Regions from separate parts of the Homo sapiens genome. Here all the other regions are linked to region 1. Evidence: promoter capture Hi-C in 16 types of primary human blood cells and fetal thymus (Javierre and others, 2016). All regions are on one chromosome and are shown on one strand. Each heading gives the region's core, a stretch centred on a gene start or on the middle of the fragment in contact. The rest is flanking DNA. Distances are from core to core; before and after follow the strand shown.

Region 1 (4,206 bases), core at 511-3,010:
CTCTCCCTCTACCAACACCCCCAACTCTCCCACCTGTGCCACCCGGTACGCCCATGTGGTCCCCTGGTTCCCTCCAATCTGTTTTCACTCTGAGCTTTATGATCTTTGCTAACTGTGAATAGGATTCATGCCATCCACTCCCCTACATAAAACCTTTCTAGGCTTCTCTTTGCTCTTAGAAACTGGCAACTGCCTAAGAGGCCACACCTGGGCCTGTCCCACCTCCCCAGCCCTCACCTCCTTCCCAGGCCTCTGCATCCCTGTCCCCCTCCACTTCCTTTGCAGTGTGCCTCCAGGCCCTCTCCCCTCCGGAGCTCTGCCAGTGCAGAGCTCTCTGAGCCCTCTGTGTGGGACATGCTGTTCTCTCTACTTGGCCTGGTAGGGCTCCTTGAGGAGCCCTCGACCCTCCCAATGGGGTGGAATCCGCCGCGGTAAACTTCCACAGGGCCCCGTGCCCCCACTCTGCAGCGCTTCCCTGGGGTTATTATTCCACTACCAGCTGCATAATTATTTCATCCGTAATTATTGGACTCAGCCCAGCTCACTTCTGCCCCTGGCCTTTGCACTTGCTCTTCCCAGTGCCTGGCGTGACCTTCCCCACACGTCAGTCTGGCTGGCCCCCCTAGCTCCTCAGGTCCTTCTTTTCTTTTTGAGATGGAGTCTCACTCTGTGGCCCAGGCTGGAGTGCAGTGGCACGATCTCAGCTCACTGCAACCCCTGCCTCCCAGGTTCAAGCGATTCTCCTGCCTCAGCTGAGTAGCTGAGATTACAGGCACCCAGCACCACGTGTGGCTAATTTTTATATTTTTAGTAGAGATGGGGGTTTTGCCATGTTGGCCAGGCTGGTCTCGAACTCCAGACCTCAGGTGATCTGCCCCTCTCGGCCTCCCAGAGCGCAGGGATTACAGGTGTGAGCCACCGTGCCCGGCCTGCTCCGCAAATCCTCCTTCTAGTGTCACCTTCCAGGTGAGGACTCGCCAACAACCTGATAGAAACCTGCAAGGCCAGCGCCTCTGCAGCCCCACACTCCCTAACCCCTTCTCTAGGGCATTGCCATCTTCTGACATACCATTTATTTTATGTCTTGTTTAATGTGTGTGTGTCTCTCTCTTAAATGTCATGCAGCCGGGTGCGGTGGCTCACACCTGTACTTTGGGAGGCCGAGGCAGAAGGATCACTTGAGCCCAGGAGTCGAGACCAGCCTGGGCAACATAGCAAGGCCCTGCCTCTCTGTATTTTAAAAAATGAAGTAAATAATAAATACATAAAGTATTTATGTATTTACTTACATTACAAAGTTCCCCCAGGGGCGGGAACTTTGCCTTGTTCTTGCGGCATCCCCAGTGCCTTGGACAGCTCCGGGCCCAGAGTCGCGACGCCTCCAGCAGGCCCGGCTGCCCCACTGCGCACATGGGCACAGGCTTGGCACACGCACTGCGGCATTCACGTATCCGCGAACACATGGGTATCTATTTATACATGAAGACACGAAAATGTATTTATTTCTTTTAAAATCAGAAGAAAACGGTGAGAACTGTGAGGCCGGGGGGACGTTTTCCTCCGGGATCCTGGCAGATCCTGCAGACCGCGCCGTCGTGCGCGAAGCACCGGGACGGGCCTCCCGCGGGAAGGGCCCAGGAGGACACCGGGCTCCCCTCCCGCCCGCGGGGCCCCAGACGCGGCGCCGCTTTAAGGCTCCGGGCCCCGCGCGGATGCGGAGGCTGCGGCCGTGACGTCAGCGCCCCGCCCCGGGTGATGCTGCAGCAGCCGGGACCGCGGCCGGGCAGGCAGCAGCCCAGCGGGGACAGGGATGCCTGCCGTCTCCACCCACAGGTACCACCGTCTCCTCCGCGCCCTCCGCCCGCTCTCTGGCTCCGTGCCTGCCGGGGCGCCGCGCCCTGGGCCCCGGGGTAGTCAGGGCGCCGAGACCGGGACCCGAGGCCGGCACGGAGACCTTTGTTCCTCGTGGAAGTCTCATGAATTGCAGAGTCCACGGAGCTCCCCCGTCTCGCCCCTCCGAGGGCAGGAGCCTCGGGCCCAGGGGAGGGTGCCGGCCAGATGGCAGGTGCTCTCATCCTTGCTGGCAAGGGGAGGAGACCCCGGCCTTGGCCCCAGCTCCTGATGCGCTCCTTGAGCCGGAGGCCTGGTCCCTAGTCACCTGGGCAGGTGTCATCCGCTCCCGGCTCACCTCTTGCGTGGGGCTGAGCCCTCTTGTTGACCAGGGGCCTGGCAACGCCCCTCAGCATCCCAGGGTTACTTAGCGAGGGCACCGAGGACTCCCCTTTCCCGAGCGAGTCAGCACCAAGGGGAACGCGCTGAGGTGGAAGCCGTTCAGCTCCTTCTGCCCTCGACAATCAGCAACTTCTCTAATTATTTCTAGAGTGACAGCCGTGCATGTTTTTCAGCTCTTACAGGGAAGCAGAGTCAGGGGCGGAGGAAAGCCACGTTCAGGCTGCACCTGGCCTGGGCTTTTGGGAAAAGTTGGCCCTGGAGTAGGGGTCAAGCTGCCGGAGATGCAAAGTGGGAAACGGCCACGATTCAGTAACTAGCCTATTAAGTGCACCCTCCCAAGTCCGTAGAGCACCTTCCTGGTCCTGGAGGACCTCACTGAAGAATTTTGAGAATGGGTAGAAAGAAGCATGAGGGGTCGGGCGCGGTGGCTCATGCCTGTAATCCCAGCACTTTGGGAGGCTGAGTCGGGTGGATCACCTGAGGTCAGGAGTTCAAGACCAGCCTGGCCAACATGGTGAAACCCCATCTCTACTAAAAATACAAAATTAGCCGGGCGTGGTGGCACATGCCTGTAATCCCAGCTACTTGGGAAGCTGAGGCAGGAGAATCGCTTGAACCCAGGAGGCGGAGGTTGCAGTGAACCCAGATCATGCCACTGCACTCTAGTCTGGGCGATAGAGTGAGACTCCGTCTCAAATAAACAAATAAGCAAATACGCCCTAGGAAGGGAGGTGGCCCAAGGCAACCCCGTGGGGGGAGCTCATTTTCATAACGAGAAGAAAGAAATGAGGAAATGGTTTCCGCTCGTAGTAGGATCATTGTAAGCATTCAAACTACATTGACATTGATTACTTTTATTAATCATTTGCCGCTTAAACTTCCCACAACACAGTTTGAGGAATCTGTTACTTTAAGCATCCTCTGTACTCTGGAAGCACAGTGGACCCCTTGCATAGCCTTCGGGGGATCCAGGGAGATGAGTGGATTTCCTTTTGACCGAGTAAATGGTCATATGGTACAGTAAAGATGGTCTGGCGAATGTTTGTATTTGTGCATGAAAATTAGATTTTATGATCTTAAATTCCACTTTCACCCATTTTTATGGGAACCTTAAAAATGGATTTTTGTTGTTGTTGTTGTTGTTTTTTGAGACAAGAGTCTCACTCTGTTGCCCAGGCTGGAGTGCAGTGGTGCGATCTCAGCTCGCTACAACCTCCACCTCCTGGGTTCAAGCGATTCTCCTGCCTCAGCCTCCGGAGTAGCTGGGATTACAGGCACTCGCCACCATGCCCAGCTAATTTTTTGTATTTTTAGTAGAGACGGGGTTTCTCCATGTTGGCCAGGCTGGTCTCGAACTCCTGAGCTCAGGTGATCCACCCACCTCGGCCTCCCAAAGTGCTGGCATTACAGGCGTCAGCCACTGTGCCCGGTCTCAAAAATGAGTTTCTAAAATTCTTCTTATGATAAACATTTGTGAACAGTTTTTACTAAATGTAGTTTTAATAAAAATGGTAATGCTGATCCCCAGATTTGAAGATGAATCCTTAGTAAAGACTTCTTCTGAGCCAGGATTAAGCTAGGTTTAATTCTGGTTCAGATGCTAGAGAGAAGTTCATTGAGTGTGTGAGGATCTCCCTTCTGCTAGGACAGGCTGCAGTGGGGTGTGGCGGAGGTGGCAGTAGAGTTGTCCTCTTGCAGGTAGAGAAGTGGGCCGTCTACATAGTCCACTTTAAATAAGGTCAAAGAGGCTCCTCTTTTCAAAAAGACACTTCAGGGGCTGGGAATGGTGGCTCATGCCTGTAATTCCAACACTTTGGGAAGCCAAGGCAGGTGGATCACTTGAGCCCAGGAGTTTGAGGCCAGCCTGGGCAACATGGCGAAACCCCATCTCTACAAAAAAATACAAGAATTAGCCTGGTGTGGTGGTGTGCACCTGTAGTTCCAGCTATTTGGGAGGCTGAGGTGAGAGGATCA
Region 2 (4,206 bases), core at 859-3,358, 450 kb after region 1:
TAGCAAATAACCGGAGGCAGTCTAAACATCTATCAGTTGAAAACAGGCCAAATTATAACACTAACATGTTTTCTTATGGAATACCTGTAATTATTAAAAAATAAACTATGTGTGCACCTATTTGGGGAAATGTTCATGATTTGTGGTTAAGATTAAAAAGTGGGTCTCAGTACAGTATGTAGAATAAAATCTTATTTCTATTAATTAAAAAAAGACAGAAAATAACTACAGCAGTCAGAATCCACTAAGGAGATGCAACAACCCACCTGCTGGGGGGGGAAAATGTAATGAAAAAGAAAATGCATATAGCATAAATGTTTTTTAGAGAAAAAACATGGAACTCCTCTAACAGCTATCATTTTGGAGATTAGAACTATTAGAAACTGGGCCGGGCGTGGTGGCTCACACCTAATCTCAGAATTTTGGGAGGCCGAGGCGGGTGGATCACTTGAGGTCAGGAGTTCGAGTCCAGCCTGGCCAACATGACAAAACCCCATCTCTACTAAAAATACAAAAAAATTAGCCAGACGTGATGGCGCACACCTGAGGTCCCAGATACTCCGGAGGCTGAGGCAGGAGAATCGCTTGAACCCAGGAGGCAGAGGTTGCAGTGAGCTGAGATTGCGCCACTACACTCCAGCCTGGGTGACAGAGAGAAACTTGTTTCAAAAAAAAAAAAAAAACTATTAGGAACTTCTATTTGCTAAATATTTTTTTGCATTATGTAAAGTTTATAATTAGCATATACTAATTTTACAATCAGAAAAAAGATGGGCCGGGCATGGTGGCTCACGCCTGTAATCCCAGCACTGTGGGAGGCCAAGGCAGGCAGATCACGAGGTCAGGAGATAGAGGCCATCCTGGCTAACAAGGTGAAGCCCCGTCTCTACTAAAAATACAAAAAATTAGCCAGGCGCGGTGGCGGGTGCCTGTAGTCCCAGCTACTCGGGAGGCAGAGGCAGGAGAATGGCATGAACCCGGGAGGCGGAGCTTGCAGTGACCGGAGATCACGCCACTGCACTCCAGCCTGGGTGACAGAGTGAGACTCTGTCTCAAAAAAAAAAAAAAAAAAAAGAAAGAAAAAAGAAAGATAAAATAGGTTTTTAGAGACTTGTGAGAACTCTGCTGCAAACGCTGTTTAGGAAAACATATAAAATTTTGTATGTATGTACTGTCACATGTACATGTACATATGTAATATCTATATACCCAATTTTGTAAAATAATCCCAATTTTGTAATACATATAACTAGAAAAAGAGACTGGAAGAAAAGACACCAAAATACAGACAGCTGTTATCTCTATAAACTCCATGAAGGCAGGAGCTTCAACTGTTTTATATTGAAATATATACTCAATTACAAACATATGCTTATTTTTTTTAATTACGAGATATAACCTGTCACTACACTGGACTGAAACTTACTGCTACTTGAGATATTTGTTCCTGATATATAAATTCTGTTTTACTTTATCCTCTTGAAGCATCATTCTAAGTAAAATCTTACAAAGTAAACTTACAAATCCAGCAAGGAAAAAAAATTAGATTACATACTGTACCTTGCTCTGATAAGAACTTTACAATGGCTTTGAGGAACTCAACAAGGAAAATCAGTGTTTCCAAGAAGAAGAAATTCGGCAGGACTTGGTGGTTCACACCTGTAATCCCAGCACTTTGAAAGGCCACGGCAGGTGGATCACCTGAGATCAGGAGTTCAAGACTAGCCTAGCCAACATGGTGAAACCCCATCTCAACTAAAAATACAAAATAATTAGTTGGGCATGGTGGCGGGCACCTGTAGTCCCAGCAGCTACTCAGGAGGCTGAGGCAGAAGAATCACTTGAACCCGGAAGGTAGAGGTTGCAGTAAGCTGAGATTGGCCACTGCACTCCAGCCTGGGCAACAGAGCAAGACTCGGTCTCAAAAAAAGAAAAGAAAAAGAAATTTATGGGCTGGGCACAGTGGCTCATGCCTGTAATCCCAGCACTTTGGAAGGCTGAGGCAGGTGGATCACTTGAGGCCAGGAGTTCAAGGCCAGCCTGGCCAACATAGTGAAACCCCATCTACTAAAAGTACAAAAATTAGCCAGGCTTGGTGGCACATGCATGTAATCCCAGCTACTTGGGAAGCTGAGGCGCAAGAATCGCTTGAACCCAGGAGGTGAAGGTTGCAGTGAACAGAGATCATGCCATTGTATTCCAGCCTGGGCAACTAAGAAATTTACTTCTTTAAAAAATAAAAATAAAAAAATAAGTGAATATCTGGTCTGTACCTTTAATACAATATCAACTAAACTTAAAAGAAAAAGAATTTTGTTGATTGAATTACCAAAGAAAGTTTTTGAGAATTTTAAGGTCCAAAAATGTTACTATTATTTGTCATCTTAACTTAAAGATCTAAAAGTCAAAACATCTGTCTAAATAGAGATGTTCAAGAAATATTTCATGCTTTGAAATGCTATAGCAATAATATGAAATTATATTAAATCATAACCAGATGATATGTCTTCATAACAACTCTCAACCAAAGAAAGCAGATGCTGAAAGAAGGTTGCTGGCCGGGTACGGTGGCTCACACCTGAAATCCCAGTGCTTTGGGAGGCCAAGGTGCGCCAATCACTTGAGCTCTGAAGTTCAAGACCAGCCTGCACAACATGGCAAAACCCCATGTAAAAAAATACAAAAATTAGCTGGGCACGGTAGCTCACGCCTGTAATCCCAGCACTTTGGGAGGCCAGGGTGGGCGAATCACAAGGTGAGGAGTTCGAGACCAGCCTGACCAACACGGTGAAACCCTGTCTCTACTAAAAACACAAAAATTAGCCGGGCGTGGTGGTGCGCATCTATAATACCAGCTACTTGGGAGGCTGAGGCAGGAGAATCGCTTGAACCTGGGAGGCAGAGACTGCAGGGAGCTGAGATCGCGCCACTGCACTCCAGCCTGGGCGACAGAGCGAGACTCCATCTCAGAAAAAAGTTACATCTAAAGTAAGTTACAATGCTGTACATACATTTGACATCAATGACAGTCAAAGACAATGAGAAGGGGAAATGTCACAAAAGAACTGCCATAGAATTTTAACAGAATGATCTCTAATGATCTTTCCCACTCATTTACTCAAGTCTTTGACATCAGCTCATAGCCTTCCTTCTCAACAGGATCCTATCATAATCCAGGGTGATGGCAACAAAAATGTACTCATCTAACCAGGTACCTTGTTCCTAGGTGTCCTCTCTCCACGAATCCACACACGCAGCCAAACTTGCTCTACCTCTAAAGCCATTCATTCGAGGCATCCCATTCTCTAGCCATAATCACTAGCAATCCTGAATATTCGAGATGCATTTGTTCTCCAGCCTCAACTGTACCTGTCTTTCTTTGGTCCTCAGTTTTCTTCATTTCAGCATCTTTCAGATTTCACTTCTACTTTCTCTGGTTTATACTCACTGCTTGTAGGAATTTAATATTATCTCCTTCATTTTGGCAAACTATTTTTTTTTTTTTTTTTTTTTTTGCTACAGAGTTTCGCTCTTGTTGCCCAGGCTGGAGTGCAATGGCGCGATCTCGGCTCACCCCAACCTCCGCCTCCTGGGTTCAAGCGATTCTCCTGCCTCAGCCTCCCTAGTAGCTGGGATTACAGGCATGTGCCACCACGCCCGGCTAATTTTGTATTTTTAGTAGAGGCAGGGTTTCTCCATGTTGTGTCAGGCTGGTCTTGAACTCCCAACCTCAGCTGATCGACCCGCCTCGGCCTCCCAAACTGCTGGGACTACAGGCATGAGTCACCACACCCGGCCATCATTTTGGCAAACTATTAAAACCTATAAGAAATCTAACTTATTTCAATGACCTAAAAGAATCAAACAAGAATTAATAGTCTATTATACAGAATAAAACCATGTTTATCTAATCTTCTCAAGGACATAAACATAACAAACATGAACGTGCTCATTCATTGGTGGGTATTTTAACTCCTCAATAGTCCAACCCTCATCTGCTTTTCCTTAAAATTATTTCATTATTCCAGCTGAGGAGAATTAAATCATGTGAAAAGCCCCATATCAGCCTTTCATAGTAGCATTTCTTCTTTCTTTCTTTTTTTTTTTTTTTTTTTTTTTTTTTTTTGAAACAGTCTCACTCTGTCACCAGGCTGGAGTGCAGTGGTGCGATCTCAACTCACTGCAACCTCCACTTCCCGGGTTCAA
Region 3 (4,206 bases), core at 441-2,940, 420 kb after region 1:
ACAGCCTGCAGTACTGTGAGCTAACTAAACCTCTTTCCTTTATAAATTGCCCAGTCTTCAGTATTTATAGCAATGCAAGAACAGACTATTATATTTACCATATTCAACCACTCTCCTATATTGTTTGTAGCCTTTTGTTGTAATATAAAATCCTAAAGCAAAATCCTTATACACAAAGAAATGGATAGAGGATGATTCTACAGTAAATATGGTAAATGTATACGCTATAGCAAATATAGTAAAATGCAACTGTAGAATCTAAACGGTGAGTGCAGGGGTGCTCTCACTATCATAATTCCTGCAATTGTTCTGCATTTAAACCATCAGTTTGTTTGTTTGTTTGTTTGTTTGTTTGTTTTTTGGAGACAGAGTCTTGCTCTGTTGCCCAGGCTGGAGTGCAGTGGCACAATCTTGGCTCACTGCAAGGTCCGCCTCCTGGGTTCATGCCATTCTCCTGCCTCAGCCTCTTGAGTAGCTGGGACTACAGGCGCCCGCCACCACGCCTGGCTAATTTTTTGTATTTTTTAGTAGAGACGGGGTTTCACCGTCTTAACCAGGATGGTCTCAATCTCCTGACCTCGTGATCCACCCACCTCGGCCTCCCAAAGTGCTTGGATTACAGGTGTGAGCCACCGCGCCCGGCCTATACTTGTTCTTAAAGTGAGCATCATGTTTTTCTTTCAACTTCTCAATAAATTGCTAATATGAAATATTTTATCAACTTCAAAACAATCCCCAAATTTCAAAAATATAATAATCTTGGAATGTTTGTTACCCTTGGCTTATATCATAGAAGAACAGAGGAGGCAATTATCAGAAGAGTCACATTTCAACTTCCATCATTTTACCCAAGGGACAGTCAAGTAAAGTAAAACTGCCCTAAGTGTCTTATTTTCTTGGGTCTCTCAACACTCTTTTAGGCAAACACTTGGTCTTCACCAAGAACAAAGAGTTATAGGTGTCTGTTACCTCTAGGAGAAGCAAGGGGGAAAAAAAAAAAAAAAAAAAAAAAACTAAAACCTTTGGAGAGTCATTGTTTGACATCTTCCTTCTCAGCTTCCTTCTTATATAATTCCCAGGAGTCCTAGCCAATAAAGAATGGTTTAACTCTTCTTTCTGAAAAAAACAAATGATTATCTTTCTTTAGAAAATGTATTCCTCTTTCCTCTGAAGACTCAGAAGCAGACCTTTCAGGAGAATTTCTGGATTAGAGTGTGCCATTTCAGCCAAGGGACTTCCTCTACCAGGGTCCAAAGATAACACATTCTAATGAATGCTTGCTGGACTGTTTCCTTTTTTTTTCTGACAATTTGAAGGTCTTCAATGAAAGCATGCCAGTATTACCACAGACTTATCTTAGGGCAGTGCTTTGGTAAACCAAATTCAGAAGCTTTAGAAAAGACTAGAAACTAATAAGTCAGCTATACATCCACTTAGAGTTTGCCAGACAGAGAAAAAGGAAAATAACATTCCAGTCACAAAGAATAAATCACAGAGGGCTTTAAGGCTTAATTGCCACGTTTTCCCTCCAAAAGAATCAAAAGTTTATCACACTTGTTTCCTAAATCTCCAAAAATGTGAGTTATTGAGAGAAGAGTCATACAATTTTTAGGAATTTCCATTTCTTCCGTTGTCGAACCTTTGAAAAACAATTGCAAGTTGAAGAGAACTCACATGACCCAGAAACTGTTCTGAGCTCTATCAATGTTCAGGAAGCAGAATTTTTTTTTTTTTTAACTTTTTAAACTCTTTTTGTAGAGACAGGATTTCCCTATGTTGCCTAGGCTGGTCTCCAACTCCTGGGCTCAAGTGATCCTCCTGCCTTGGCCTCCCAAAGTGCTAAGATAACAGGTGTGAGCCACCACACGTGGCTGGAAAAAAATGTTTTCATCCAGAGAGTAAAACTCAATGAAGTGGCACAGCACGCAGTACATTTCAACTTTCCCCTCTTAAAGATTTCAGCCTACACACTCCAATTTCACACTCAATGAAAGCTTAAGCAAAATGTTAGCATAAATCAAAGTTTTAAATCATTTTAGATTGTTAACTAGCAAATGTCCTGCAGAAATTTTAAAACTCACTAAATAAATTATAAATCTAGTTATGAGAACAAAGCACACTGTGGAATATAAGGATGCAGAATAAACAGCTATTCAGAAAGTGTGTCCAATTTTTGTCCCACCCCTAAGTCAAGAGGCAAACCATGACCCCGCTGTGGGACTGGGCTGTCAAGCACTCTCCCTCCTCTGCTAACGCTGTTGCCTCTGTTCAGAAGACCTTCCCTGCCCTCTCTTCACGGGGCAAACCTACACCTCTCCTCCAAGATCCAGCTGAGCCTTTACCTCCTCTGTGGCCCCTGATCAGAATCCCCAAGGCAGAAGTTTTTGGAGCTTTATTCGTGCCTTTCTTTTGTTGTTGTTCTTTTTTTTTATTTTTTTGAGATGGAGTCTCGCTCTGTCACTCAGGCTGGAGTGCAGTGGTGTGAACTTGGCTCACTGCAACCTCTGCCTCCCTGGTTCAAGTGATTCTCCTGGGCTGGTCTCAAACTCCTGACCTCAAACAATCCTCCTGCCTCAGCCTCCCAAAGTGCTGGGATTACAGGCATGAGCCACCACACCCAGCCTATTCACGCCTTTCTGACACCTACCACTCACTATAACACACTTAACAAGCCTCTTCCCATTCCCCACCCCTCAAGGCAGAGCCTGCAGCCCTGGTCATCCTCTATCCCTGACACCCACCACATTGCCCAGCAGACAACAGCACAGTCAGTAGTCCCATTTACTAAGGACTTACGTGCCAGACACTATGCTCAGTGCTTTATATAATATCAACTCATTTCACCTTCACAAAAACCATATGAATAATATAATAATAAACTATAGTATCCCTCCAATCAGTCTTCCCCAGCCTCCTTAGGAGGTTCCTTTTCATGTGAACAGGCTGTAACCTACAGGACTCTATCCTGACCATACTGTCATCTTGTTCCTCACACTCTTCCTGGGCAATCTCCAATCCAGGTCTTTGGAGCTCATTCCAAACCCATATAGGACAGGCACTTGGATATCTGAGTGTTCTGCACTTAAAATTGGTCATGTCCCAAACTCTGTCCATCTCTCTCCCCAAATATGCTCTCTCTTTATGATTCTAACAGAACACTCTATGTCCAGTCATAGCCTAAGTCCAATCAGGAGAAAGAAACTACATGGTAATTTGAACAAGGGAAGATAAAAAATCATTAACTATAACAAAAGATTAATGAGAAGTTGGCAAATAAGACCTTGAAAGAACACAGCAATAGCTGACATAAAATATAGTAGCAAATATAATATTATGTAACACAACATATAATTGCCACCACCCTTAAGGCTGAGACAGAGCACCCAAGAAAGAGTTCCCCCAACTCTAGGGCTGAGATCCAGACCTTGCTGGAGGGGGCTCATACCTGACAGAACTTCAGGCAATCCACTCTGTGAAATTTGCCAGAAATCAGTCCTCTAGAATGCCAAGGAAAGTTGTTTGTGGGAGAGTGTCTCAGTGGACGTACTCTGCTACCTGGGCAGCAGGAGAGCTGCTGGTCACTAAGAGCTGCAAATGCCTGAGCACTGAAGAAACACCATGTGCCACACTGGCCTCTCTTGGAACCAGCAAGTAAATCTCTTTCCTCCTCAATGTCTCTCCAGCACCCTCTACTGACAAAACTAAACATCGTGCCAGCTGGCGGAGGAAAAGCAAAAGGCCCAGATTCATTTTCACAGAGCAAGCAATGAAGGACATACTTCGAGGTGAGAAGCAATAAATCAATAACTGACACAAGCACACAATCATCTATCAGTTGTCTAAGCCCAAAACCTAGAGGCATCCTTGATTTTTCCTCCAGTCATCAAGTCCCACAGGTCCTACCTTCTAAGTATTTATTGAATCCATCTACTTCACTCCATCCACTTCACTCCATTATGATTAATGTTAATAATACTGATATATTAATTAATTATATTATATAATAAATAATATATTATTGTTAATAATAGTGTTAATCCCCCCGTCCAGTTTTACTTGCTTGCTTTTTTTATTCTGTTTTGCCTCTGGGCCACTGCACATGGGTTTCCTCTGCCCAGAACAGCCTTCCTTCTTTCCCCTATTGCCATATCCACTTTTTGGTTAGCTGATTCTTCATCATTCTTCAGCTCTCAACTCTCTTGCTCC
Region 4 (4,206 bases), core at 867-3,366, 420 kb before region 1:
ACAGGCATTAGCCACCGTGCCCGACCATGTTTCATAATCTTTATATATGTCGCATCCTTCTTTTGGTAGAGCATTCCTAGGTACCTTCTGGTTTTGTTGTTACTATGCATTGTTGCTAATAGGTTACAAGTCAACTGATTAATGTACATTAATATTATGACCAACCATCTTGATAAACTTCTCTTGTTATTTCTAGTATTCTACAGATTTAGGGTTGTCCATGTATACAACCATGCCATCTGCAAATAAGAATGGTTTTGTTTCTTCCTTTGGAATCTTCAAAATTTAAATTTCTTTTTTCTTGTCATAAGTTACTGTCTAGAAACCCCAATACATGTAAAATATAAGTGGCGATTGTTTTGTCCAAACCTGTGGCTGGAGTTACCCCCAAAAGTGGAGGCAGGGGAATTCCCAAAAAGGAGTACCGCAAGCTGTCCTGAGATCAGGCCAGTTAAATTTACAAAGAAAAAAAGCACTAAATGCCAGCCTGGAAAAAAGCATTTATTAGGGGAACTTATATACCGAGAACTGCAGAGTACCCTCAAGATGGACAGAGAGAGAAGGGGTGCTCTGACCAGGTATCTCACAGCAAGGGGGCTCAGAATATAGAGTTTTGTTTTTTGTTTTTTTTTTGAGACGGAGTCTCACTCTGTCGCCCAGGCTGGAGTGCAGTGGCGCGATCTCGGCTCACTGCAAGCTCTGCCTCCCAGGTTCATGCCATTCTCCTGCCTCAGCCTCCCGAGTAGCTGAGACTACAGGTGCCTGCCACTACGCCCGGCTAATTTTTTTGTATTTTTTAGTAGAGACGGGGTTTCACTGTGTTAGCCAGGATGGCCTCGATCTCCTGACCTCGTGATCCACCCACCTCGGCCTCCCAGAATATAGAGTTATATGAAGGTTTGGTCCAGAGCTAGGGACAGTTTTTTTCAAGTAAACCTAGATACTTTCATCAGTGCCTGGAAATGTTCAAGGCCCTGATTTGGGTTCAAGCCTGTTGGACAAAACCTATACAGTTGGCTGGGTTACTGTATTAGTCCATTCTCACACTGCTATAAAGAAATGCCTGAGACTGGGTAATTTATAAAGAAAAGAGGTTGAATTGGCTCGAGGTTCCATAGGCTGTACAGGAAGCATGGCTGGGGAGGCCCTGGGAAACTTACAATCATGACAGAAGGTGAAGGGGAAACAGGCACATCTTACATGGCCAAAACAGGAGGAAGAGAGAGAGGAGGGAGGTGCCACACACTTTTTAACAACCAGATCTTGTGAAACCTCATTGACTATAATGAGAACAGCATCCGCCCCATGACCCAATCACCTCCCACCAGGCCTCATCTCCAACATTGGGGATTACAATTAGACAAGAGATTTGCTGAAGACACAGATTCAAACCATATCAGAGAGCAGTCAAGGCAATCTGATTTTCGGTAAGGACACAGAAAGAAAACAGAGGCCTGAGGGACCCTACAGCGATCGTGACCATCTTTATCCTGTTTCAGCTCATAAGTAAAACACTTTCAACATTTTCTCATTAAGAATAATGTTTACTTTGAGTCGATGCAGTTAGGTGTTTTAAAAAAATAAAATAATAATGTTTACTAATTTTTTTCTTTAGATATCCCTTATCAGTTAAGGAAGTTCTTATCTAGTCCTTTTTATTTTTTGAGACAAGGTCTCACTCTGATGCCCAGGCTGGAGTGCAGTGGCGTGATCATGACTCACTGCAGCCTCAACCTTCCCAGGCTCAGGTGATCCTCACACCTCAGCCTCCTGAGTAGCTGGGACTACAGGCACGAACCACTGCACCTGTCTTTATGATCTTTTTTAAACACTGTTAGATTTTGTTTGTGAACTATATTAACGTAAGAAGTTATCCCACAATTTAGTGTCTTGAAACAGCAAGCATTTGTTATAACATGTTTTCTCAGGAGTCCAGGAGTGGCTGAGCTATGTAGTTCTGGCTCAGGGTCTCTCAGGAAGTTGTGGTCAATGTGTTGGTCAGAGCTGAAGTCATCTGGAAGCTTCACGAGGGAAAGACCTGCTTCCAGGCTCACTGTGTGACTGTCAACATGTAGGCCTCTCAGATACAGCAATTGGCTTCCTCCAGAGACAGCAATCGCAGAGAGAGCGAGAGTGTACCCAACCCGGAAGCCACAGACTTTTTATAACCTGGAATCATCAGATGCAAGTCACTCCATGCTCAAGTGGAGGAAAGCTTAGCTCCACTTCCTGAATGTAGAAATATCAAATGAATGGCCAGGCACAATGGCTCACACCTGTAATTCCAGCACTTTGGGAGGCCAAGGCAGGAGAGGATCACTTGAGCTCAGGAGTTCAAGACCAGCCTGGGCAACATAGTGAAACCTCTTCTCTATAAATAATTTAAAAATTAGCCAGGCACAGTGGTGCATGCCTGTATTGCCAGCTACTCAGGAGGCTGAGGTGAGAGGATCACCCGAGCCTGGGAGGTGGAAGCTGCAGTGAGCCTTGATTGTACCACCACACTTGGCCTGGCGACAGAGCCAGAACTTGTCTCCAAAAAAAGAAAGAAGGAAAGAAGGAAGGAAGGAAGGAAGCGAGCAAGGTAGGTTAAATAATGTGTGGGCATGAAACACCACATTAATATTTTGTTTTGGCCAGGTGTGGTGGCTCACGCCTGTAATCTCAATACTTTGGGAGGCCAAGCCAGGTGGATTACCTGAGGTCAGGAGTTCGAGACTGGCCTGGCCAACATGGCAAAAACCCCATCTCTACTAAAAATACAAAAATTAGCCAGGCACAGTGGTGGCTGGCGCCTGTAATCCCAGCTACTCAGGAGGCTGAGGCAGAAGAATTGCTTGAACCAGGGAAGTGGAGGTTGCAATGAGCTCAGATCATGCTACTGCACTCCAACCTGGGCTACAGAGTGAGATTCCATCTCCAAAAAAAAAAAATTGTTTCATGTTTTTGCCTCTTTTTCTTTTACTGTCCTTGCCTGGTTTTAGTATCAAGGTTACACTGGCCTCACAGAATACCTAGGAGAAGATAAACCACTTTCTTCTATTCTCTGGAAGAGTTTTTATAAAATAGGAATGATCCACTCCATGAAAGTTTAAGAGAACTTACCTGGAAAGTCATCCAGGTCTAAGTTTAATTTGACAAAGATTTTTACTTCTGTTTCAATTTCCCTAATCATTTTATGACTATCCATACATTTTCTTTCTTCTTAAGTCAGTTTTGGTAAGTTACGTTTTTTCTAGGGAATTGGTCATTTTGTCTGAGTTTTCAAATGTATTGGCAAAAACCCGTTCATAGTAGTCTGTTATCGCATGGTAAGCTTTCATTCTACATAGATTAAGTAATGGAGCTTGGATGTGAAGCAGGCTATTGGAAGACTACTGCAGTAATCCAGGCCAGAAATAACACAGGCATGAATTAGGACAGTGAGAGTAGGATGTGAAGAATGGATTGGATTCTAGAAATACACACTGGGATTTGTTGTTTCATTAAATGTGGGTGGTGAAAGAGAGGAAAGAGTCAAAAGGTACTAATCTGATGTCTGCCTTGGAGAGGAGGTGGAAGGAGCTGCTTTATGGAGGAAAATGTTAGCATTTACTGTAAAGGTTTCCATTCATTGAGGTGTTCTATGGATCAGGCACTGTGCTACTTGCTTTATATGTATACATGTATATGCTATATACATATGTATGTATGTAAATATATACATACAGCTGCTATATACTTGGATGTGTATATATATTCATCTATGTGTGTGTGTGTGTGTGTGTGTGTATATATATATTTATATTCTCATTTAATCCTCACAAAAAGCCTGTAAGGTAGGTGCTATTGTCTTCATTTTACAAATGAGGAAACGGACTTCGTGTGAGGAAATGGACTTCGTGGAGGAGATGGTTCAATCCAGTGCCACCAAAACAAAAACCCTCGGCCAGTTTGGAACATCCTGGGTTTGAGATGCCTGTGAGGATCCACACAGACTGGCCCAGCAGATCACGGAACGTGTGAGGTCTGTAGGGAAAAGCATTTGAGAAAGAAGGAACAGCAAACTCCAATGTCCTAAGCCAGAGAAAAGTTTAGTGGATTCAAGGAGCAGAAGGAAATCCAGCGACCCTAGAGGGAGTGGGTGCGAGGGAGAGGGTGATGGATGAGGTGGGAGAGAATGACCGGGGTGGCTGAGAGCAGGGCTGGACTCAGCGCTGGTAACAC
Region 5 (4,206 bases), core at 483-2,982, 400 kb before region 1:
TGTGGATCTTATCAGGTTAGACATGTCATTCCCCTAGAATGAAAGTTCCAGGTGGGAAGTGAGTTTTATCCTTGTGCTTGTGTCCTGATGTGGTTCCTGGTGCAGAGTAGACACCTGGATGGCTGCTAGTTCAGTGAAGGAGTCATTTGGATCCAATAGTCAGCATCTTCAATGAATGTGTCAGAATCTGCCTCTTCAATGAATTTGGAAAAGTTGTTTGAAAGGCTTCAATGGCTTAGTGAATTTTAAATACAGCTATCTGAATCAATATTGATGTAACAACAGTTTTTTCTTTTTTTTGAGACAAGGTCTCACTTTGTCATCCAGGTTGAAGGGCAGTGGTGCATTCATGGCTTACTGCAGCCTCGACCTCCTGGGCTCAAATGATCCTCCCACCTCAGCCCCCCAAGTAGCTGGAACTACAGGCATGCACCACCATGCCTAGCTAATTTTTTGTATTTTTGGTAGAGATGGGGTTTTACCATGTTGCCCAAGCTGGGAAAACAGCATTTTTTTTTTTTTTTTTTTTTTTTTCCTGAGACAGAGTCTCACTCTGTCTCTCGGGCTGGAGTGCAGTGGTGTGATCTCAGCTCACTGCCACCTCCACCTCCCAGGCTTAAGTGATTCTTGTGCCTCAACCTCCCGAGTAGCTGGTATTACAGGCGTGTGCCACCATGCCTGGCTAATTTTTGTATTTTTAGTAGAGATGAGGTTTCACTATGTTGGCCAGGCTGGTCTTGAACTCTTGGCCTCATGTGATCCACCCGCCTCAGCCTCCCAAAGTGCTGGGATTACAGGTGTGAGCCACTGTGACTGGCCAAAAACAGCATTCTTCTTTTTTTTTTTTTTTTGAGACAGAGTCTCGCTCTGTCGCCCAGACTGGAGTGCAGTGGTGGGATCTTGGCTCACTGCAACCTCCGTCTCCCAAGTTCAAGTGATTTTCCTGCCTCAGCCTCCCAAGTAGCTGGGATTACAGGTGCATGCCACCACGCCCGGCTAATTTTTGTATTATTTAGTAGAGGCAGGGTTTCACCATATTGGTCAGGCTGGTCTTGAACTCCTGACCTCTGGTGATCCACCCCCCTTGGCCTCCCCAAGTGCTGGGATTACAGGTGTGAGCCACTGCACCCGATCAACAGCATCCATTTTTATGTAACTAATAAGTCAATTGTTGAAAGCAAAAGGAATCTCATACTGGAAATCTTTAGCATCCTTCGGCACTAAAAGCCAAAGTTTACAAAGAATGGCACCTTATTTCATGATTACCCTTTATGATATGATGTTGCAACAGTTATAAAAAGCTTTTTAAAATAAGGTCTTTTTTTCTTATTCTTTTTTTCCTGTGAACATCATAGTTTTGTGTTTTATTAGATAGTCTTTTAAATAAAAACGTTGATAAAGATCACTCTCCAAGTCCTACCACACACAGGGCACATGTAACCTGCCCTAGCTGCGGTGGGCACCTCTCACCCACAGATGGAAACATCTTCCTGTGGGGGAAGATGCCCACTTTATAGTCATCCGCCCCTCACATCAAAACTTTCCGTCAGAGTGATATCTTCCACTAAAGAAAAAAAATTAAAACTTTCTTCTGAAAAAAACCTGAGCTTGTTTTTAGCATTTAGAAAATGATTTATAATTTGTGTATCCCTAAATGTGCTAATTTATTTTTAATCATAGAAATTTACATTTATTTCTATTAAACCTAATTATGGAACTTTCTAAATTAAACCCAGAAGGGGATCATTTTATTCTGTCTCAATGTTCCTTCCTTATTAATTGTCATTTAGGGGGAGCAATGACTCACATGCCAAGTTCCTGTGTTTTTCATTTATAGCTTTTGCACATGATACCAGAATAGGCTATGATAAAAATATCACAGTCTGTATCATAAACATAGCCTCCTTTCTTCACAGAATAAACTGTGGATTTTCGGTGTGTAACCTAGGACACATGAGAGCCTCGCTCCATTATCTTGGATACCCCAACCCTGTGGGGCATGACCAGTCTCTTTCTGTTTGTGGATAGTCAGCAGTAGGTAATTAAACACCATGTGTCCAAAGCCAAGAGGAGAAATCACTTTAGAACTTACAGCATCATGATTCAGAAAGACAAAAATATTCGCACCTAGCTTTGTTCCTGAAATGGCACCAGTATACTTCCTAAGCTTTGCTTTGCCTACTATTTGGCAAGAATTGTACAGCCAATAATTGTTCTCTTATTCTTATTGGAACACCAGATGACTCAATTCTGTAAAATTATCAACTCTCCCTAAATTGACCTGTAGATTTAATGAAATTCCAATCCAAATCTTTTCAAATTCAGCTTCTAAAATTTATATTGAATAATAAAGAACCAAGAATAACCAAGACATCTCTTTTCTTTTTTTTCCTGAGACAGAGTTTCGCTCTGTCACCCAGGCTGGAGTGCAATGGTACGATCTCGGCTCACTGCAACCTCCGCCCCCCGGGTTCAAGCAATTCTCCGGCCTCAGCCTCCCAAATAGCTGGGATTACAGGCACATGCCACCATGCCTGACTAATTTTTGTATTTTTTAGTAGAGATGGGGTTTCACCATGTTGGCCAGGCTGTCTCAAAACTCCTGACCTCAGGTGATCCATCCGCGTCGGCCTCCCAAAGTGCTGGGATTACAGGCGTGAGCCACCGTGCCTGACCTAGCTAAGACACTTCTGAAGTAGAAAAAGAAGGTGGAGGGAGATGTCCTACCGGATATCGAGAGCTGTTACAAAGCTATTGTAATAAACACAGTGTGATACTGGCACAGGATAGACAAATTGACAATGGAACAGAACAGGGAGCCCAGAAGCAGACCCATGGCCCTATGGAAACTTGATGGATGGTAGGTGAGATTGCAGACCCGCAGGAGAAAGACGACGTATTGAATACATGGCGCAGGGACCAGTGGTTACCTACATGCAAGACATGGAATTGGATCACTACCTCCCAACAGGCACAAAAGCCAGTTCCTGATACATTAGACTTCAAGATGAAAGACAAAACTTAAAACTTTTGGAATAAAATGTGGGCAAACCTCTTTATAGTATTGGGCAGAAAAGGATTTCTTTAGCCAGGCAAGAAAAAATGTTAACCATATGAGAAAACAGTTATAAATTTAACCAAATCAAATGAAGAACTTTTTGCTTATTACCAGAAAGACAAAGAAAGACACCATTAATTAGAGAAAAACAGGAGGGGCGCGGTGGCTCATGTCTGCAATTCCAGCACTTTGGAAGGCTGAGGTGGGAGGATCACTTGAGCTCAGGAGTTCAAGACCAGCCTGGGCAACATAATGAAACCTCAGAAACCTCACCTCTGCTAAAAATAAAAATAAAAAAGAATTTTATAAAAAATTTTAAAAAGGGAAAAATAAATTACAAAGGATATATATATATATATATATAGATATAGATAGATAGATAGATAGATAGGCAGAATTTCACTCTTGTCACCCAGTCTGGAGTGCAATGGCACAATCTTGGCTCGCTGCAACCTCTGCCTCCTGGGTTCAAGCGATTCTTCTGCCACAGCCTCTGGAGCAGCTGGGGTTACAGGCACCCGCCACCATACCCAGCTAAGTTTTGTACATGTTTAGTAGAGATGGGGTTTCACTGTGTTGGCCAGGCTGATCTTGAACTCTTGACCTCAGATGATCCACCCACCTCAGCCCCGCAAAGTGCTGGGATTACAGGTGTGAGCTACCGTGCCTGGCCACAAAGAAGATATTTTTTAACACATATAACTGACCAAAGATTATTATCTAGAATACATAAAGACCTTTTAGGAATCAGGACAAACAACCACATTTGGGTTTGTTTGTTTCTGAGAAAAGGTTTTTCTCTGTTGCCCAGGCTGAAGTGTAGTGATGCGGTCCCAGCTCACTGCAACCTCTGCCTCCCAGGCTCAAAGCGAACCTACTGAGTAGCTGGGACTTCAGGTGCACACCACCACACCCGGCTAATTTTTGTATTTTTTGTAAAGACAGGGTTTCGCCATGTTGCCAAGGCTGGTCTCGAACTCCTGGGCTCAAGCGATCTGCCCACCTTGGCCTCCCAAAGAGCTGGGACTACAGGCATGAGCCACTGCACCCGGCCCCAAGTTTTTTTGCAAATGGGCAAAAAAGCATGAGCAAGCATTTTATTTAAAAAAATAAACACAAATGGTATATAAATATTTGACAAGGTGCTC
Region 6 (4,206 bases), core at 1,088-3,587, 370 kb before region 1:
GTAGCCCTGTAATCTTTCAAATGCAACAAAAGCTTTTTCTATTCCATAAAACCATCTCAAACTAAATCAGAGATGACCCCGACAAGACAGCAACACTTTAGCAGTATTAATAATATTAATAATATGTTTCATCCATCCTAAGCAGTATTAATAATCTGTTTCATCACATCCTAAGCATCTCATTCTAAACCAAGAAATAGGCCGGGTGCAGTGGCTCATGCCTATAATCCCAGCACTTTGGGAGGCTGAGGTGGGAGGATCACAAGGTCAGGAGATCGAGACCATCCTGGCTAACATGGTGAAACCCCATCTCTACTAAAAATACAAAAAAAAATTAGCAAGGCGTTGTGGCAGGTGCCTGTAGTCCCAGCTACTCTGGAGGCTGAGGCAGGAGAATGGCGTGAACCCGGGACACGGAGCTTGCAGTGAGCCCAGATCGTGCCACTGCACTCCAGCCTGGGCGACAGGGCGAGACTCCATCTCAAAAAAATAAATAAATAAATAAAATAAAAAAAAAATAAATAAATAAATAAACCAAGAAATAGATTTTATTTCATTTTGATTGACTATAGGTCTAATCTTGAATATCTCAAGCAGCTAAATACTTTGAGGCTAAATAGCATGAAGGCCCAACAATTCTAAACAGGATAAAGGAGACATTTAGAAAGAGAAAGCCCTCAAAATAAGCTTCCTATAAAATATTCTTCCGCCCTTCCAGGGCGCATCTTAGAGGGAATCTCTTCCGTGGGATATTCACTGTTTACACTTGTTTTCTGCCTGAAAGATCTATTCTTTCAAGATTCAGTGTCGCCACCCCTACTCCAAACACCCAAACTAGTAGTCACTATTAGACATACCTGGTGCTTGTGATGTCAGTAGGTGTTCTGAGGCCTGGGAAGGAGTAAATTGTTTTTAAACTTGGAACAAAGAAAATGAGCAGGAAATCAAAGAGGAAGGAGGCAGAGTAAGGAGAAGGAAGTACGAATCATAAGGAGAGGCGGGTGTCAGCAGCCATCGACTTTGCTCACCTTTCCTCCTTGTTCTGCCCTTTCTCCAGGTGGCATCCACTCATATGCTAAGGCTTATCAATAGTTGTCTCCAACTTCAGACCACCCCCAACACTGTGCAGTCCCCAGGACAAGAGTACAAACAGAGGCCTGCTTACCATGTGTCCAAATATTTAGAAATTGTTCATCAATCCAAATACGCTGTTAAGTATGTTCTGTCCAGAGCAGAGACACAAACACACAAACACAATGAACACAGAGCTGCGTCTGTGACTGGGTGTCTGGCGCACGGTGCTGGCATAGGGATGCATTAACTCGGCTCCATCTGCTCTCTGGACCCACACTGCCAGGCCTGGGTGAAGACTCCCCCACATCCCTGGATCCATGTCCTTGAAACTCCATTTGAGGGTGACACCGTGCTGTGAGAGTTGTGAGCTGTGCTGTTGCCTCCAAGAACGGCAGGGAGGGTGTGAGCCATAGAAGTACCAGGCAGACAAAAGGCAAGTAGATTTGTCAAATCCATCTCAGATACCAAGGGTGTAACAGATTCTTGTATAATCTATTATTATGCAAGAATATCACAGACAGTGGTATTTCCCTACAGTCCCAAGTATCCTTTTTTTTTTTTTTTTTGAGACAGGGTCTCACTCTGTCACCCAGGCTGTAGTGCAGTGGTGCAATCTTGGCTCACTGCAGCTTCTGCCTCCAGGGTTCAAGGGATTCTTCTGCCTCAGCCTCCCGAGTAACTGGGACTACAGGTGCGCACCACCTTGCCCAGCTAAGTTTTATATTTTTTTGTAGAAAGGGGTTTTGCCATGTTGCTCAGGCTGGTTATCCACTTGCTTGATCCAATTTATGGCCCACTTGGTGGTTTTGGAAGTTCTTGTATATTGCCATGGAATTCACAGCAGTTATGCACAAAGTCTGAGGAAGACTTTGTAATATTAAACAATTCATATTATTCTTGAATATGCACATATGTAATATGTAGAATAAGAACTGCAGCATTAATTCTTTACTAGAATCACCTAGGACTGAGACCCAGAATGACAATTTCAATTTTTATAAAAATATTTAAAACAATTTAAATTTCAAAAGATTAAAAATCTCAGTTCTTTAATAAAAATAAGTTTTAAATATTTGATATTTATCCACTATAATTTGTTTTTAATTCTAATACTTTTGGAACTTTTAGAAAAATGAAAAAACGAATGTAAAAACAAATTTAAAATTTTACATACTCAAATTCACACATTATATTAAATACATACAAATGCTGTATATGTTAAGTACAATTATATTTTATTTCTTAATCCTTTAAGTCATTACTGTCCAAACACAAATTATGCGAAATTATCTATTGTAACAAATGAAATGAAAGCAAAAAAATAAATTTTCTAGATAAAAATACAATTATTTATGAACTATGTGTGTCTTTTTTTTTTTTTGAGACGAAGTCTCGCTGTGTCACCCAGGCTGGAGTGCAGTGGTGTGATCTCGGCTCACTGCAACCTCTGCCTCCTGGGTTCAAGCGATTCTCCCCACTCAGCCTCCCAAGTAGCTGGGACTGCAGGTGTGTGCCACCACACCCGGCTAATTTTTGTATTTTTAGTAGAGACGGGGTTTCACCGCATTGGCCAGGATGGTCTCAAACTCCTGAACTCAGGTGATCTGCCTGCCTCGGCCTCCCAAAGTGCTGGGCTTACAGGCGTGAGTCACCATGCCCGGCCCTGTATGCCTTTATTTACCACTAATTTAAACATTTTCAGGTCATCAGAAAACATCTACACATTTGTAATGTTAGTTAAACTCAGTCATCTTTGCCAACTTTGTTACATAAAAATAATTTGTTATTTAGTTACTTTGAAGACTTCTCTGTGAAGTAGAATATTCTCCTTGCGCTTGATTTGCCACTTTTAAATATTCAGACATGGTGTGTGGGCCCCATTTCTATACTTGCTCCAGGCCCCAAAAGTGTTAGAGACAGCGCTGAGAGACACACAGTTGGTAGTCAATAAACCTTTATCAAATGAACAAATAAATACATGGATTTGTTCACTCCAGTCCTGCGGTCTGCCTGTCTCTTCATGACCTAATGTTTTAATTTCACTCTCTTCCTGGGGAAATCATTCTGGCATGCAGACCCCAACCTGAGCTGTCATTGTCCTTTCTCAGGTCTCATGTAAAATGCTTTTCTGATCACGGCTGACACTGGCCGAGGGCTTACTATGCGCAAGGCACTGTTCTATGTATTTACAGAAGTTCCCACAATTATACCTTAGGACAGCCTTTGTCCCTGTTTCACAGGTGAGGAAACAAGGGCACAGAGAAGCCAGGTAGCCTGCCTGGTGTCACCTGGCTAGTAAGGAGCCGAGAAAGGATTAGAAACTCGGCTGTCTGGCTGCAGAGCCCATGCTCTTAACCAGACTCTTAACCTGCCTGTGCCCAAGGCCCCATTCGCTTGTGGGTCCTATGCTTGTGGAGCCCTCAGAATAGGATTCGTAATTCATAAAATATATTACAAAGGATTACAAAGGAAACCAACTGAATTGAAATGTCCCTGCCAAATATTTTAAAAGCCAATTTGTGATGCACTAATATATGGACTTAACATGTATCTGGCATAATTTCAAATTAATCATGAATCAAAATGGTATTCTGGGATATCTGCAAGAACTGTAATGTGATATGAAGATGACTTTCAGTACTATTGGTCCCAAGCCATGAGTACTGTTCCTTCAGCTATGCTTTGTGAATTACTATATTCCAAATGGGAAGAAATGTTAGGTTTAGATTTCCATTAGAGGTTAGTGAAACTAAAGATGTAATTTAAATCTAAGTTCACAGACTCCCTGATTTTTATCTGTGCACCTTTGAGCATCTGTGGACCTCAGGGTCACAACCCCTGTATGAAGTCTCCTTGCTGTCGCTCATGCGCTTAAACAGTTTGAGCTCTGGGAACTTGCTCTTACTCCAAGAGCAAGCTTCACTTTGATTATTTCTCCAGATGCTGTCATTGTATCTTAAGGCAAAAACTCTATGTCATTTCTGTCCCTCACCATCCTCACCAAGATGGCACATGTTTATGGTGTATCACATTCTGTGGTCCATTCCTCTGGTCCCTTCAACGCTGAATTTAAACAGATTGCGACTACCACTAAATAAATGTTTTCTAATAACAAGAGCTAATACTTATGGG
Region 7 (4,206 bases), core at 647-3,146, 340 kb before region 1:
GCCTAAAGGACAGAGCAAGACTTGGTCTCTTAAAAAAAAAAAGTAAAAATAGGCCAAGGGCGGTGGCTCACACCTGTAATCCCAGCACTTTGGGAGGCCGAGGCGTGCGGATCACAAGGTCAGGAGATCGAGACCATCCTGGCTAACACGGTGAAACCCTGTCTCTCCTAAAAATACAAAAAATTAGCCAGGCGTGGTGGCGGGTGCCTGTAGTCCCAGCTACTCGGGAGGCTGAGGCAGGAGAATGGTGTGAACCTGGGGGGCAGAGCTTGCAGTGAGCCGAGATTGCGCCACTGCTCTCCAGCCTGGGCGACAGAGTGAGACTCCATCTCAAAAAAAAAAAAATTATATAAAAAACAGTAAAAATAGAAAACACACTAGCAGTGTGTTTATACCATTGAATATCCTGCACCACTGTTGTGGGCACTACACCAGAAATAGGAAAAAATGTGATGATGAGCTGAGCTAATTGAGATGAGGGTTATGGGAATGGAACAGAGGAGTGATGGAAGAGATTTGGATCTTTTAAATTGGCAAACAGAAAAATAAGATTCTTTTTTTTTTTTTTTTTTGTTGAAATGGGAGCTTTGCTCTTGTTGCCCAAGCTGGAGTGCAGTGGTGCAATTTCGGCTCACTGCAACCTCCACCTCCCAGGTTCAAGCGATTCTCCTGCCTCAGGCTCCCGAGTAGCTAGAATTACAGGCACCTGCCACCATGCCCAGCTAATTTTTGTATTTTTGGTAGAGACGGGGTTTCACCATGTTAGCCAGGCTGGTCTCGAACTCCTGATCTCGTGATCCGCCCACCTTGGCCTCCCAAAGTGCTAGGATTACAGGCGTGAGCCACCGCACCCAGCCAAGATTATTCTGAAGTGTTGCAGTTAGGGATTGGAAACATTTTGAACACAAAGAATATTAGCCTAGTCCTTAATATTGAGTGAATGAGGAACGCAAATTGGAAGGGAGTCTATGTTGAGAAGAAAATTAAATGATATTTACTTTGAGTAGGGGAGGGGGAGGAAGTGTGGAGTTGGAGGAGTGGACAGTTGTCAGCTGAGATGCCCAGGTCTAGGAATGAGGCCTCTGGAAGCAAGGTCTTGGCCACCTGGAGGAGCTGGGGAGTTGGCAGAGGTGGTCATTTTGCATGTTACCACAGGGTGGTGCTGTTGGCTGCAGAAGGGGACATGGTCAGCTGCGCCCTCTGCACTGTAGTGCAGAGTACAGAGCGTTTTCATCCATCAGAATCCCAGGTCCTGGGAGAGTGAAACGTCTCTTCTCCAGTATTCCAAATAGGGTTCTGACGCCCCAGAAAGCAGTGATTATGAGCTTACCTGATAAGTATGAAAGACATCAGTAAATTCCTGAATCCAACTGTAACATAAATTTATTCACATCGTAGCAGTGATTTTATTACCACCTTGAAGGGAGCAGCCTAAAAATTCTCGTTCACCGATCACTTTCCTCACTGTGCTATCATCTATTAAAGTTTACTTTAAAATGCAAGATGATGTAGGAATTTCTTCTTAAATTCTTACCAAATAAAAATTAAAAACAATTTATAAATCCATTCAAATAAAAATTGATAATTATTCAATTCTTACGGACTTCTAAAATTTGCTACCATACATAGCTGTCTTGTGTGTAAAAATAACGTGGAGAAGAGACATTTGAGGCTTTTGATTTAAGAGCTATAAATCAGGACTTGGTCTGAAACTGACAGCTGATATTAGGCAGAAAGCTTATGTAATTAGGTAGTATTTGTGTGATCTTCCTGTTTGTAACAGCTACGGTCTGAGTAGCTTGTGGGTATATTATATAATTCCTTCCTTGGAGTCTTGTTGAAAAATGAAAGGACAGTAAGACCAAGACCTCTCAGGTTTGCTGACACTAAAAGTGTACAAACTGTGCCACAGGATCTTAGCCATCCAGGGCACCTTAAGTGTTTCCAAGATCAAGGTGCTGTTCTGAAACGTATCCTTCTAAGTGTCATGTGAGGCCTTAGAAAGAATGTTTATATGTGTGGCTTAGAGGAAAAAGGTAGAATGAATACTTTGTAAAAAGCTTTAAGATGAAATAACAATGAAAGGTATATAAAATCTTTGTTTTTAATCCTTATTTAGGACCATTACATACGCAATATGCTTGTGACCCTCCCTGAAGTTGGCCGTTTTCAGTGAATACATTTAAATAAAAATCTCAAGTTAGGACCTGCCAATTTGGAAAGACTTCATCAACTGACACTTCCATGTGGTTCTTTGCTTAAGTAGCTTTCATCACGTGATGCTAGTGCCTTTATATCTCACACTTCCAGGCACTTCACAGGCTATCTCCTTCAAGGACAGTGTGCTGTCCATTTTAATCCTACCACCTGGCATACTTGGGTGGATAGGTGGATGAACGAGTGTTAATTTCCCATTTTATTTATTTATTTTTTATTTATTTTGAGACAGAGTCTCGCTCTGTCGCCCAGGCTGGAGTGCAGTGGCACGATCTTGGCTCACTGAAAGCTCTGCCTCCCGGGTTCACCCCATTCTCCTGCCTCAGCCTCCCGAGTAGCTGGGACTACAGGCGCCCGCCACCACGCACAGCTAATTTTTTGTATTTTTAGTAGAGACAGGGTTCCAGCGTGTTAGCCAGGATGGTCTTGATCTCCTGACCTCATGATCCAGCCGCCTTGGCCTCCCAAAGTGCTGGGAATACAGGCATGAGCCACCGTGCCCGGCCTAATTTCCCATTTTCAAGTAGAAAATAAGATTACAAAAGAGCAATAAAATCCAGAAGTTCAGAGAGTACCAGTTGCCTTTAGCATGTAACTAAATCTTTCCTTTTACTAAGAGTGAGGTAAGAAGTTGAGCCCGCCCCAGTGATCCTCCCCCTCCTTTGGACTCCTGGTATATGTGGTCCCTGTTCTGGGGATGGGGAAGGTGAGAGAGGTGAGCACATTTTGTTTATCTGTGTATGCTCTGCTGGTATCAAGGTAAATCTTCTTGAGTAAATGGTTATTGAAGTATTTTGAGTTTCTGTGCTTTTGCCAGATGTGCTCAGCAAATCGTTTGTTATAAACATACTTTATCTCTCATACTAGGAAGTGTTTCATTTCAGAATCGTAGCTGTATGTTTGGTAAGAGCCTCTTGATTTTGAAGAATACTTTGCTGTTGCAGTTTTTGTTGTTGTTAGAGAAGGGGTCTGTGTTGCCCAGGCTGATGTTGAATTCCTGGGCTCAAGCAATTTTTCTACCTAGGCCTCCCCAATTGCTGGGATTACAGGCATGAGCCACTGTGCCAGGCACTATTGCGATTTTTTAAACATGGGCTTTTCTATATCTGCACTTAGATCTTTTTATTTTTATTCTTAGGTCCTACTGCTCTGTTGGCTCATGAAATAGGTTTTGGAAGTAAAGTTACAACACACCCTCTTGCTAAAGACAAAATGATGAATGGAGGTAAGTATATGCTTGTTTTTGTTTGTTTGTTTGTTTTTTGAGATGGAGTCTCGCTCCATCGCCCAGGCTGGAGTGCAGTGGCGTGATCTTGGCTTACTGCAATCCCTGCCTCCCGGGTTCAAGCGATTCTTCTCTCTCAGCCTCCTGAGTAGCTGGGATTACAGGCGCATGCCATCACACCCAGCTAATTTTTGTATTTTTAGTAGAGATGGAGTTTCACCATGTTGGTCAGGCTGGTCTCAAACTCTTTTTTTTTTTTTTTTTTTTTTTTTTTTTGAGACAGAGTCTCGCTCTGTTGCCCAGGCTGGAGTGCCATGGTGCGTTCTCTGCTCACTGCAACTTCCGCCTCCCGGGTTCAAGTGATTCTTCTGCCTCAGCCTCCTGAGTAGCTGGGATCACAGGTGTGCTCCACCACGCCTGGCTAATTTTTGTATTTTTTAGTAGAGATGGGGTTTCTCCATGTTGGTCATGCTGGTCTTGAACTTCTGACCTTGTGATCCACCCGCCTCAGCCTCTGAAAGTGCTGGGATTACAGGCATGAGCCACCGCGCCCAGTCTCGAACTCTTGACCTTGTGATCTGCCTGCCTCAGCCTCCCAGAGTGCTGGGATTACAGGTGTTAGCCACCGCGCCTGGCCCATATGCCTGTGTGTGGTTTTTTTTTTTTTTTTGAGATGGAGTCTCTCGCTCTGTTGCCCAGGCTGGAATGCAGTGGTGTGATCTCAGCTCACTGCAACCTCCGCCTCCCGGGTTCAAGGGACTCTC

Evidence for each region. Contacts are between HindIII fragments. The CHiCAGO score rates a contact against its expected background, and 5 or more counts as called.
Region 2: a fragment that was not itself captured here is called in contact with the fragment with the promoter of SLC45A1 in region 1 in 1 of 17 cell types (activated CD4 T cells); the score reaches 5.1 in activated CD4 T cells.
Region 3: a contact is called between a fragment that was not itself captured here and the fragment with the promoter of SLC45A1 in region 1, in 1 of 17 cell types (M1 macrophages). The highest score is 5.1, in M1 macrophages.
Region 4: a fragment that was not itself captured here is called in contact with the fragment with the promoter of SLC45A1 in region 1 in 3 of 17 cell types (total CD4 T cells, activated CD4 T cells and total CD8 T cells); the score reaches 7.0 in total CD4 T cells.
Region 5: a contact is called between a fragment that was not itself captured here and the fragment with the promoter of SLC45A1 in region 1, in 1 of 17 cell types (total CD8 T cells). The highest score is 6.3, in total CD8 T cells.
Region 6: a contact is called between a fragment that was not itself captured here and the fragment with the promoter of SLC45A1 in region 1, in 8 of 17 cell types (naive CD4 T cells, endothelial precursors, total CD8 T cells and 5 more). The highest score is 8.5, in naive CD4 T cells.
Region 7: a contact is called between a fragment that was not itself captured here and the fragment with the promoter of SLC45A1 in region 1, in 16 of 17 cell types (endothelial precursors, M2 macrophages, M1 macrophages and 13 more). The highest score is 34.5, in endothelial precursors.

The regions. Positions count from the first base shown.
Region 1 is chr1:8,316,354-8,320,559 of GRCh38, forward strand. SLC45A1 (solute carrier family 45 member 1) reads left to right here and starts at 1,761. Exons shown (of 9, transcript NM_001080397.3): 1 at 1,761-1,833. RefSeq lists a silencer at 1,591-1,870. The HindIII fragment of the contact is 5,366 bases long and covers 1-4,206 here.
Region 2 is chr1:8,770,856-8,775,061 of GRCh38, forward strand. The region is part of intron 1 of RERE (arginine-glutamic acid dipeptide repeats); the gene reads right to left. Among named protein-coding and RNA genes, the nearest start is that of RERE, 45 kb to the right of the region's middle. The HindIII fragment of the contact is 5,646 bases long and covers 1-4,206 here.
Region 3 is chr1:8,735,863-8,740,068 of GRCh38, forward strand. The region is part of intron 1 of RERE (arginine-glutamic acid dipeptide repeats); the gene reads right to left. Among named protein-coding and RNA genes, the nearest start is that of RERE, 80 kb to the right of the region's middle. The HindIII fragment of the contact is 604 bases long and covers 1,389-1,992 here.
Region 4 is chr1:7,897,861-7,902,066 of GRCh38, forward strand. It overlaps a transcript of UTS2 not described here. Among named protein-coding and RNA genes, the nearest start is that of TNFRSF9, 41 kb to the right of the region's middle. The HindIII fragment of the contact is 194 bases long and covers 2,020-2,213 here.
Region 5 is chr1:7,914,555-7,918,760 of GRCh38, forward strand. It overlaps TNFRSF9 (TNF receptor superfamily member 9), which reads right to left. Exons shown (of 8, transcript NM_001561.6): 8 at 1,317-4,206. Among named protein-coding and RNA genes, the nearest start is that of TNFRSF9, 24 kb to the right of the region's middle. The HindIII fragment of the contact is 866 bases long and covers 1,300-2,165 here.
Region 6 is chr1:7,944,067-7,948,272 of GRCh38, forward strand. No RefSeq gene overlaps it. Among named protein-coding and RNA genes, the nearest start is that of TNFRSF9, 5.3 kb to the left of the region's middle. The HindIII fragment of the contact is 3,304 bases long and covers 686-3,989 here.
Region 7 is chr1:7,974,297-7,978,502 of GRCh38, forward strand. It overlaps PARK7 (Parkinsonism associated deglycase), which reads left to right. Exons shown (of 7, transcript NM_007262.5): 6 at 3,356-3,442. Among named protein-coding and RNA genes, the nearest start is that of PARK7, 15 kb to the left of the region's middle. The HindIII fragment of the contact is 323 bases long and covers 1,736-2,058 here.